Regions from separate parts of the Homo sapiens genome. Here region 2 is linked to region 1. Evidence: promoter capture Hi-C in 16 types of primary human blood cells and fetal thymus (Javierre and others, 2016). All regions are on one chromosome and are shown on one strand. Each heading gives the region's core, a stretch centred on a gene start or on the middle of the fragment in contact. The rest is flanking DNA. Distances are from core to core; before and after follow the strand shown.

The links. Contacts are between HindIII fragments. The CHiCAGO score rates a contact against its expected background, and 5 or more counts as called.
Region 2: a contact is called between a fragment that was not itself captured here and the fragment with the promoter of CYP26B1 in region 1, in 5 of 17 cell types (M0 macrophages, megakaryocytes, M1 macrophages and 2 more). The highest score is 9.3, in M0 macrophages.

What each region holds. Positions count from the first base shown.
Region 1 is chr2:72,145,892-72,150,246 of GRCh38, reverse strand. CYP26B1 (cytochrome P450 family 26 subfamily B member 1) reads left to right here and starts at 2,385. Exons shown (of 6, transcript NM_019885.4): 1 at 2,385-2,616. The coding sequence starts at 2,413. RefSeq lists enhancers at 2,496-2,997, 3,187-3,709. The HindIII fragment of the contact is 2,315 bases long and covers 1,352-3,666 here.
Region 2 is chr2:71,526,536-71,530,890 of GRCh38, reverse strand. It overlaps DYSF (dysferlin), which reads right to left. Exons shown (of 56, transcript NM_001130987.2): 14 at 2,490-2,593. Among named protein-coding and RNA genes, the nearest start is that of DYSF, 62 kb to the right of the region's middle. RefSeq lists an enhancer at 2,619-3,137. The HindIII fragment of the contact is 806 bases long and covers 2,703-3,508 here.

The DNA.
Region 1 (4,355 bases), core at 1,136-3,635:
ACGCCAGAGCCAAGGGGGGCTGAGGGAAGCAGGATGCACGGGAGAGAGAGGGGCAGACATTAGCTAGACCAATGTCGGGGTTGCTGTACGCAGCTCCATGTTAACACAGGCTCGCAGGAGGAGAGGCCAGATGACAGATGCACGGATGCGCAGACACACTCATGGCTCTACAAAGAATACACAAACCCACAGACATACCACGTCGCTCCTCAGACGTCGGGCCGACGCAAGGCCACGCGCGCGAACACACAGGTGCGGCCCCGGGCCACACGCACACCGTACACAGGCACGCGCGCCGGGCCCTCTGCTGCCAGCGCTGAGAAGGTGGCCGTGCTCACCCAGCATGTTTATTTACTCATTTGTATCAATGAACGTTTGTGCCCGTCTTCTCCCGCCTCTGGGTACCGGGGCCGCCGCGTTTGTCCCCGCGCAGGACACTTGCCGGACCAGTATCGGGGTTCCCCGACGCTGCGGGCGGTGGAGGGGGACTACAAAAGCAGGGGAGGGGGGTCCCAATGTGCAGGAAAGGAGGGGCTGCAGAGTCAGCAGCCTGGGACGCTGACGGGGACAGGAGAACCTCCAGGTTCCGTAGGGTAAGAGACATATGGCGGGGGCGGACCTTAGCATCGGAGGTGTGAGGATATAGGGATCGGGAATGGGGGATCTGGCTTAGGGGGATTGGGACTGGTAACTCAGGGGTCCCTGGAGATAAGAGCCAGCGGGATCCCGGGGGTTGGAAGCTCGGGACCCTAAGGCACAGTTTCGAGGGCTTTGGGCGCCTGCCAGTCGAGGGGGCAGTCCGGCCAGGACCTCCGCTGCCGGGGCTTCGGCCCAGGAGGGACTGCTCGGAGCTGGAGGAGGGGACCGCTGACCTGGGAAGGAGGAAAAGAGGAAGGGAAGGAGCCTAGAAGCCAAGCAGGCACTAAGCGAGTGCGCACCGTGTGTGCGGAGGTGTGTGTGTTGTGTGTGTGCGCGTGTGTGTTGTGTGTGTGTGCGCGTAGGTGCGCGCGCGTGTGTCTCATCTCGTCCGTCTGTAGGCGCTGGGCTCAGCGAGACGCCGGCGAGAAAGAAGAGGAGGCGAGAGGTGAACTGAGTTTGATCCTGCGGCGGCTACAAGTGGGTCCCGGGCGGGCTGCGGGCGGCGGGCGGCGGGCGGCCGGGGCGGGGCGGGAGGCCGGGCTGCGCTCTCCAGCTCCGGCCGCGGGCCCGGCCTCTCACCACGCCTCCGGCTTTGTGAGCGCGCGGGTTGGGGCGGGGGGGTGCTGGCGGGGCGCCCACGGCGCAGCCTCCCGCCTCTATATAAACACACGCATCGCCTCGCTTTGGACTCAAATTCACATTGAGAGAAGCTTTTAAAACCACCAGCCCTGAAATCCTGCCTCCTGCTTTTCCCCCTCTTTCATTCCTTTTGCCTTCCTTTCTTTTTTCCCCATTTCTTCCCCCAGCAGCAACTCCAGAGCCGAGAGACCGCGTCCCGGGACGGACTGCCTTTTCTTAATTGATACAATAGCCCAGCTCGGGTTTTCCACCTCCTCCCCCAACCCCACCCCGCCTCACCCCTCCCGCCCGCTGCCGCCGCCGCCGCCGCCGCCGCCGCCGCCGCCGCCCCATCGCCCGCCCGGGGCTCTGTCGCCGGCTGCGTCCCGTCCCGGCCGCGGCCCGCCGGCTCCGCACCCGCGCTCGGGCCGCAGCGCCCGCCTCGCCGCCTCGCCCGCCGCTCCTGCCTCGGGGGTGCTGCGGCGGCTCTGGGGCTCGAGCGCGCCGCCCCGGGCAGCCCAGGGACTTTTAGGCTCCGGCCTCTCCACTCGCCTCAGCCAGGGAGCTTTCTCCCTCGCCCCCAAAGTTTCTGGGTTCGTTGGAATTTTTGGATTCAGGAATTTTTTCTTTTTTTCTTTTTTTCACCTAGGAATTTTGGGGCCATACTGCAATACTTTTGACAAATCGACCGCACTTTCTCTCTGCTAGCTCTCTGCCCCCTTCTTTTTTTCCGAGCAGGGGAAGGGGCTTACGAGAGAGAGGCTCCCTCTGGACAAAGTTTTCCAAAGTTTTCCGAGTGTGATGGTAGCGGGGAGAGCAAACCCACCAGCTTGACTCACGGCTTCATCTCACCACCCCTTGAGCAGCCCCTAAGCCCGCTATAAAGGAACAAACAAACAAACAAACAAACAAAGTTGCACCCCAGTCGCCTCGTGTTTCCTCTCTTCTTTTAGGCAATTTTTTTCCTCCCTCTCTCCGCTCCCCTCGCAGCCTCCACTCCCTTTCCCTTGGCCCCTTCCTCCTTCTCTGTTTCGGCTGGAGGTGCCAGGACCCCCGGCCGCAGCCTCCCCTCCCCCGCCGCTCCGGTCCCCTCCCGTCGGGCCCTCCCCTCCCCCGCCGCGGCCGGCACAGCCAATCCCCCGAGCGGCCGCCAACATGCTCTTTGAGGGCTTGGATCTGGTGTCGGCGCTGGCCACCCTCGCCGCGTGCCTGGTGTCCGTGACGCTGCTGCTGGCCGTGTCGCAGCAGCTGTGGCAGCTGCGCTGGGCCGCCACTCGCGACAAGAGCTGCAAGCTGCCCATCCCCAAGGGATCCATGGGCTTCCCGCTCATCGGAGAGACCGGCCACTGGCTGCTGCAGGTAAGGGCGCGCTCGCTCCGCTGCACTCCGGGGTCCGCTAGCTGCGAGCGCGGGGCAGACGGAGCGGCGGGCCGGCCAGGGGGCGCCGGGAGCCTGAAGGCACTGGTCCCCGCCCCGCCCCTTCCCTCCTCTCTGCCGCAGCAGCCCGGGCTTCCCCAGCCCGCCGGCAGCGCGGTTCCGGGACCACTGGCGCCCGCGGCGCAGGTTCAGGGGGCTGGTAAGAGGGGTTCCCGGACCTGAGGGGGCTCCCAAGATGGACTTGCCTGGGTCGCGGCTGGCCTGGCAGGGGGCGTGGAGCGCCCCGGGGGCGCCTAGCGAGGCGCGGTCCCGGGGGAGGGTCCGGTCCTGAGCCGCTTTCGCCTCCCCTCGGTGCTGCAAGCCCCCAGTCGCCCTCGGCTTTCTGGGGTTGGCTGTGTCGCTGGGAGCCGAAAATTGAGTCGGGAGAGGAGGGGGCTGGTGGCAGCTTGAATTGCCGATTTAAAACTGTGTTCCTGCGGCGCCGTCGGCAGCGCCAGGTACAGTGTCCCTGGTCCGCGGTCCGCGCGAGTGTGTCTGTTTTGTGGTGGAAGAGGAAGAAGGTAACCCAAGGAAAAATGAGAATCCAGGGCTCTAGGCTTTCGGGGAAAAGGGTCTATTTACTTATTGGGTGGGGACAGTTTGGCAGGAGAGGGAAACTTGGGAGAGGTGAGTGTGGGATCCATAGAGAGAGAGTGCGTGTGTGCTTGTTAGATGCCGCACAACCCCACTCTGCTGGTGATAACGGGGGTGAGGCGCGTCAGGGACCAGACCCAGGTAGGTAATGGGGAGATTAACCTGGAGTTCACCTCATCAAGTGCCAGACAATCGCTTTTGCAATGTGATACACACCGGTTTTCTTCTTGGGGTGGGGGAGCGGAGCGCCTCTGCAGTAACTGCGGGAGGTGTATTTGTGTGTACGCGCGTTTGTTCTGTTAGGGGAAGCAGGGATGTCCTGAAACTGACAATCCCCGCACTAGAGAGGTGAAGCGAAAGGTGAGCGCTGCGACCTGTGGGTTTACAGGTGCGAAAGCTTGGCTTGAAATTAACAGACGCGTGCAATCCGCGCGCTCGCGCACACACGCACTCACCCTGCCCCGGGACGAGTGACAGCGGAGCGGGGGCGGGGAGGGGGTTCGAAGTTCCTCTGCCCTGTGGTCTTTCCACGTCCCGGATTAGGCCCATCTCTTTTTGGGGTTGTTCGTGCAATGAGGTGGGGGTCCTTTCAACCAATGGATGTATCACCCCCCCACCCCCCGCAAAGAAATCCCCAGAGCCTTTCCCTCGCCACCACACTTAAAGTGTCAACTGCAGCGGTGCTCTAGGCTTTGGGCCGCGAATTTAGGAAATAAAATAACTTGGGCAACGGCTCCCGCCTTTTAGAGCCAGTCTGCTGAATCCACGGTCTGTCACCACCCACCCCCACTTCGTTTCCTGACCTCTCTGCCCCCCCTCAGGTCCCCATGACCTTTTCTCCGAATCCCACAAGAGCCCCTGGGGGTCAGCGTCCAACCTGCACAGAAGTTAGGGAGGAGGAAACCTAAGCCTCCCCATCCCTCCAACCCGGGGCCCTAGATCTGGAGGTGAGGAGGGAAATAGGGGGTACGTGTACAGGAGCGCCTAAGGGGTTAATGAGAGCCCTCTGAATCCCAGCGTTATTTTTTCGGAGTCATTTATCAGATTTTACGGGGGGACCTCCAAGGGCTCTCCGTTTCCACCGAGCG
Region 2 (4,355 bases), core at 1,856-4,355, 620 kb after region 1:
CCAGCTGGGGTGGGTGGGTACACAGAATGTAACCTCAGGGCTCTTCAGCTTAGGGTGTAAAGAGAGAAAAGGGACATGCAAGCAGGCTAAAAGAGAGGGACAGGCAGAATGAGACACGCCATAAGAGCAGCAGAAGCGGGGACGCCACAAGGAGGTGGCTTAGGGCAGAGAGGACGCAAAGGCCTGGGGTCCACCGAGGAGGCTGGCCAGGTTGAAACTTTCAAGACGGAGCATTCCAGCTGCCTCCTTCACCATAAGGTCATTCTTCAACTCCCTCCACCTCCTTCTAGAGGAAAAATGGGAGGCGCAGCTTCTTGCATGAGCCCAGATGCCAATCTACTGTATACAGTGCCTTGCCTTGGCTGCCTTTGTCCTTTCACCTCCCCCTAGACACTGGTACCTTCCTAAAGAAATCCCCAGGGCCAGCCAAGGGCATCTCAGAACAGAAGACCCAGGGAGATCAAAGATGCTGGCAGGGACCCAGGAGCAGCCCGGAGCCCCGGAGCTCTGAGGCTTAGTTCCAATGAATGTGAAGGCATGTCGGTCTTGGTTCTAGCCACCATCGAAATACCTTCCATGTTGGGAATGCGAAATAAGAACAATCTCAGGACGTGAATTCCCCCAAGTGTCAAGTGGAAGAATTAATCCTAGTCCTTGGAGCTAGTGTCCCACAAAAACGTACAGCCGCAGCTTCCTGTTTCCTTCCTACCTTCAAGCAGCTGTCCCCATTCCTCCTGATGCCAGGCGCAGGGCGTAAGACCTGGACCCTGAGTCTACACCAAAACCTGCACTCAGGTGAGGATCTGCAGTAAGCATTTACACCTCCACATGAACGAGTTTAAAATCTGCATTACATCCCCGTGTACATTTTCACTGGGACCCTGTGCTAGTCTCTGAGGAGAGAGAGCCCAGCTCAAAGGGGCTCCTGATGGCCACCTTCAGTATAATTCATACATCAACACAATAATGACTGATTTAACATTAGAAATAAAAAGTATTGAGGTCCATACTAATACTCAACGAAGCGGAGGGAGAAAGCTCTTCTTTACAGAAAAAAATGTTGGCTAATCAAGAGAAAAAGAATGATAATGAGAAAATCACCACTTTGCAGTCCCAACTAAATGACTTCTTCAGACAGGAAGGTCAATGGATGCTTAGACCATTAGATAAGAGGTAGCTGAGAAGTAGGACATCCGTACAGTGCCAAGATATCACCCACAGTTTACTTGCTAATTACAAAGTGGGAAGATTTATAAGGGAGCTGTCTGGAGGCACCATTTTAACTGTGTGATCAGGCGATCATCCCTAATGATGGGACAACCTGACATTATGGCTCTCTGTTGTGATGCCATATGACATGCAGAACATCAACTACTCTGAGTTCTTGCCGAAATACTTCATCTGAATCTAATGGAGTCTCTAGACCTAACTTCCAGTTTACAGGAAAGAGAGGAGTCAGAGAAACAAGTTAAACAACAGAAGGAAACAATCGAACAAATCCAGTACTTGGACAAATGGCCTGGGCTGTTCAAAAATTCAATGCCATGAGTTGAGAGACAAGGGAATGCTCCTGGAAAGAGCTAGCAGTGGCTGTGGGGGCACGAGGTAGGGATGGGCCCTGGGGACAAGTTTAAAGTCAAAAGCTAGAGATAGCATGTGGGATGTGGAGAGAGAAAAAAGAAGGAAGAATCAAGGCAGGTCCACATTTTCTGCCTTTGATGGTTGTACCTGGTTAAGACAGAGGCTTTTGGATATGGGGCAGTTTGTGCAGAGAAAATGACTCCCTCCAGGGCTCAGAGGGGCAGCAGGCGGAACTGTTTAGAGGCACAGAGAGGCCTGGGGTTGAAGGGAGGGTTCGGAGAGCTACGGAGTTCTCTGCAGAGAGGTGATGGCTGAAGCCTGGGAGGGCTGGGGCTGCCAGGAAAGCCTGTGGGGGGTGCACAGACACTGGGGGGTGGGCAGCCTGTGTGGAGAGAAGGGCTGGGACAGAAGTCAGCAGGGACTGGAGCCACAGTCCCGCCTCAGGGCAGGAAGGTGGGCTGCAAGGAAGAGGCTAGGGTGCCCACCAGAGGGGCCTTTCTCTGCCCAACTACCCCCACAACATTTTTTAAATAACCATTATGTTTTTCTCCCACATCTTTAAAATATAGTTTCTCTATCTTTATGCCTTCATGTCTGGTTTCCATGCTATTGCTCCATTTTCCCCCAAATGTTCCTCTACTATCCACCATCCAACGTCCTCTCCTGGGCCATCCACATCTATGTGTCTGTCTGGGACACCCCCAGGCAGACCTGTCCACATTCGTGTGCGGGGCAGTCCCTGAGAGCTGGGCCTATGTGGGTGTCTCACCACGCACCAGGATCAGCCACTCCTTGTGCACACACCTCTGGTGGGGGCATCTCACTCTGTCTTGCTCTCACCCGGCACAGTCCACAGGGCACCAGAAAGTCCCCTCCCGAGAGAACCCTCCTGCTCCCTTGCTCCTTACCATTTTCCCCGCAAAGCTGACCTCCACAAAGGGGTCCACCAAGTTCTTCTTGTTACTCTCGAAGCCAAAGATCTGTTTCACGTTGTCCATCACGGCATCGTCCACTGGGAAGAGGGACACACCAGTCACTGCCTGCCTGCTGTCTCTCCTCTAAAACCCTGACTGTCCCCCATCTGTCTCCAGGCAGTCCTGGGACTACCTGAGCAAGAAGCTTTGGCCCCTTCACACAGGGACTCAGCCCAGGGGCTCCCCAGAAGGAGGACTGTCTCAGAGCAGCAACTCCTGAGAGCTCCGGGCCACTTTGTCACCAGTCCCAAACAGCTCAGTTCACTGTCCCCACCCTGCATTCAAAGCCTTTCAGATCAAATCTACCTGCCTGACTAATTAGAAATCTACATCACTAAGGGCAGTAAGTACTCAGAAAAGGACTGGCAGTTGTTATAACAATATCCCATTATTGGTGCCTGGTTGACATTTTCCTTTAAATCTATTAGCGCAGCGATTTACCTGAGGTTAACCAAGAAGTCAATTCTGTTGTTTTTTTTTTAAGAGTTTTTAATCTATGCTGCCCCAAACCATTATTTTTTGAATCAGCCAGATTATTTATATATGTAGATACAGATAGATAGATATGTTTATGTGTATACACATACATATGTGTATAAAGCATGTTATGTTTACAGACATATGAGTGGGTAAGTAAGTGGAGGGGGATAAAGATTATACGCTAGCTAATAACTACATGAATACAAAAGGCAACAACAATTAGCAAACATTTATGATCTGTTTGCCCATCTATTTTGTTTTTTTCAAACAACGTTGCAGGGAATTCAACACAAAGCTCTTTCACCTTAAGAAAAGCAAACATTTCTATTTCCCCATGCCCCTCTTGAAGTTCACCAGCCTCACTTCTAGTTGCAATCAATAAGTGCAGAATATTTTTAAGCATGTGTTTTAGTACTGAATTAATACCCATTACTTATTTACAGGCTTTCTTCAGGATTTGATCTAAGTAAGCTTGTACATTTCATTTCTTGACGTCAGCAGCCGAAGCAGAAACTCTCAAATAGTTACCTTTATGGAAAAGTTGTAACCAGGGACCCAAGTTGCAAACCTTCTCACTGACTCTGCTGTGGACAGTGGCTTGGTTGTGTTAATGCATGCTTTAAAATAGTGGCTCACAGCGGGGCCTCACCACAGAACAACCTGGGGAGCCTTTAAACCCTACCAATGCTGAGCCCTGCCCTAACTCGAGTCAATCTAAAACGCTGGAGGTGGGGCCCCGGCATTTGGACCGTTTTGAATCTTCCCAGGGAATTCTACTATCAGCCCAGGTTGATAACCAGAGCTCTAGAATATTCGGTATAACTCCCCAGCATTTACTAAACACACAGATGGGTCTAGTATCGGGCCAACCACTGTGAGAAACCAGGCAGTGGCCACATTGGCCTTCCTGGGAGGAAGAGATGGTTGCAAGTCGGGTGCCCACTGTCCCAGTTTGCTGGAGACTGCAGGGTTTCCTGGAACAGGCACTTTCAGTGCTAAAACCAGGACAGTCTCAGGCAAGCTAGGATGGTGGGTCACCTTGTGGATCTGTGTCCTTCATCTGTGAAGACAGTGGGGCCCAGGAGTCCTTCATGCAAACCCTTCCAACATTAGAGCAACTGCTCCCCAGCCCAGCTCTGCCACTAGCAGGACGGGCTTCCTCACAGAGGGAGGGAAAATCAGTGAGAGCCAGCCCTAAGGCCAGAATAGAGTCCAGATGGTGCTGACTTCTCAATGAGAACTAAGAAAATGGGTCCACAGAGTGGCCAAATATTGCCAGACCAGGCCCAGAGGACATTGGAATGGAGCTGAGAGGCAGCT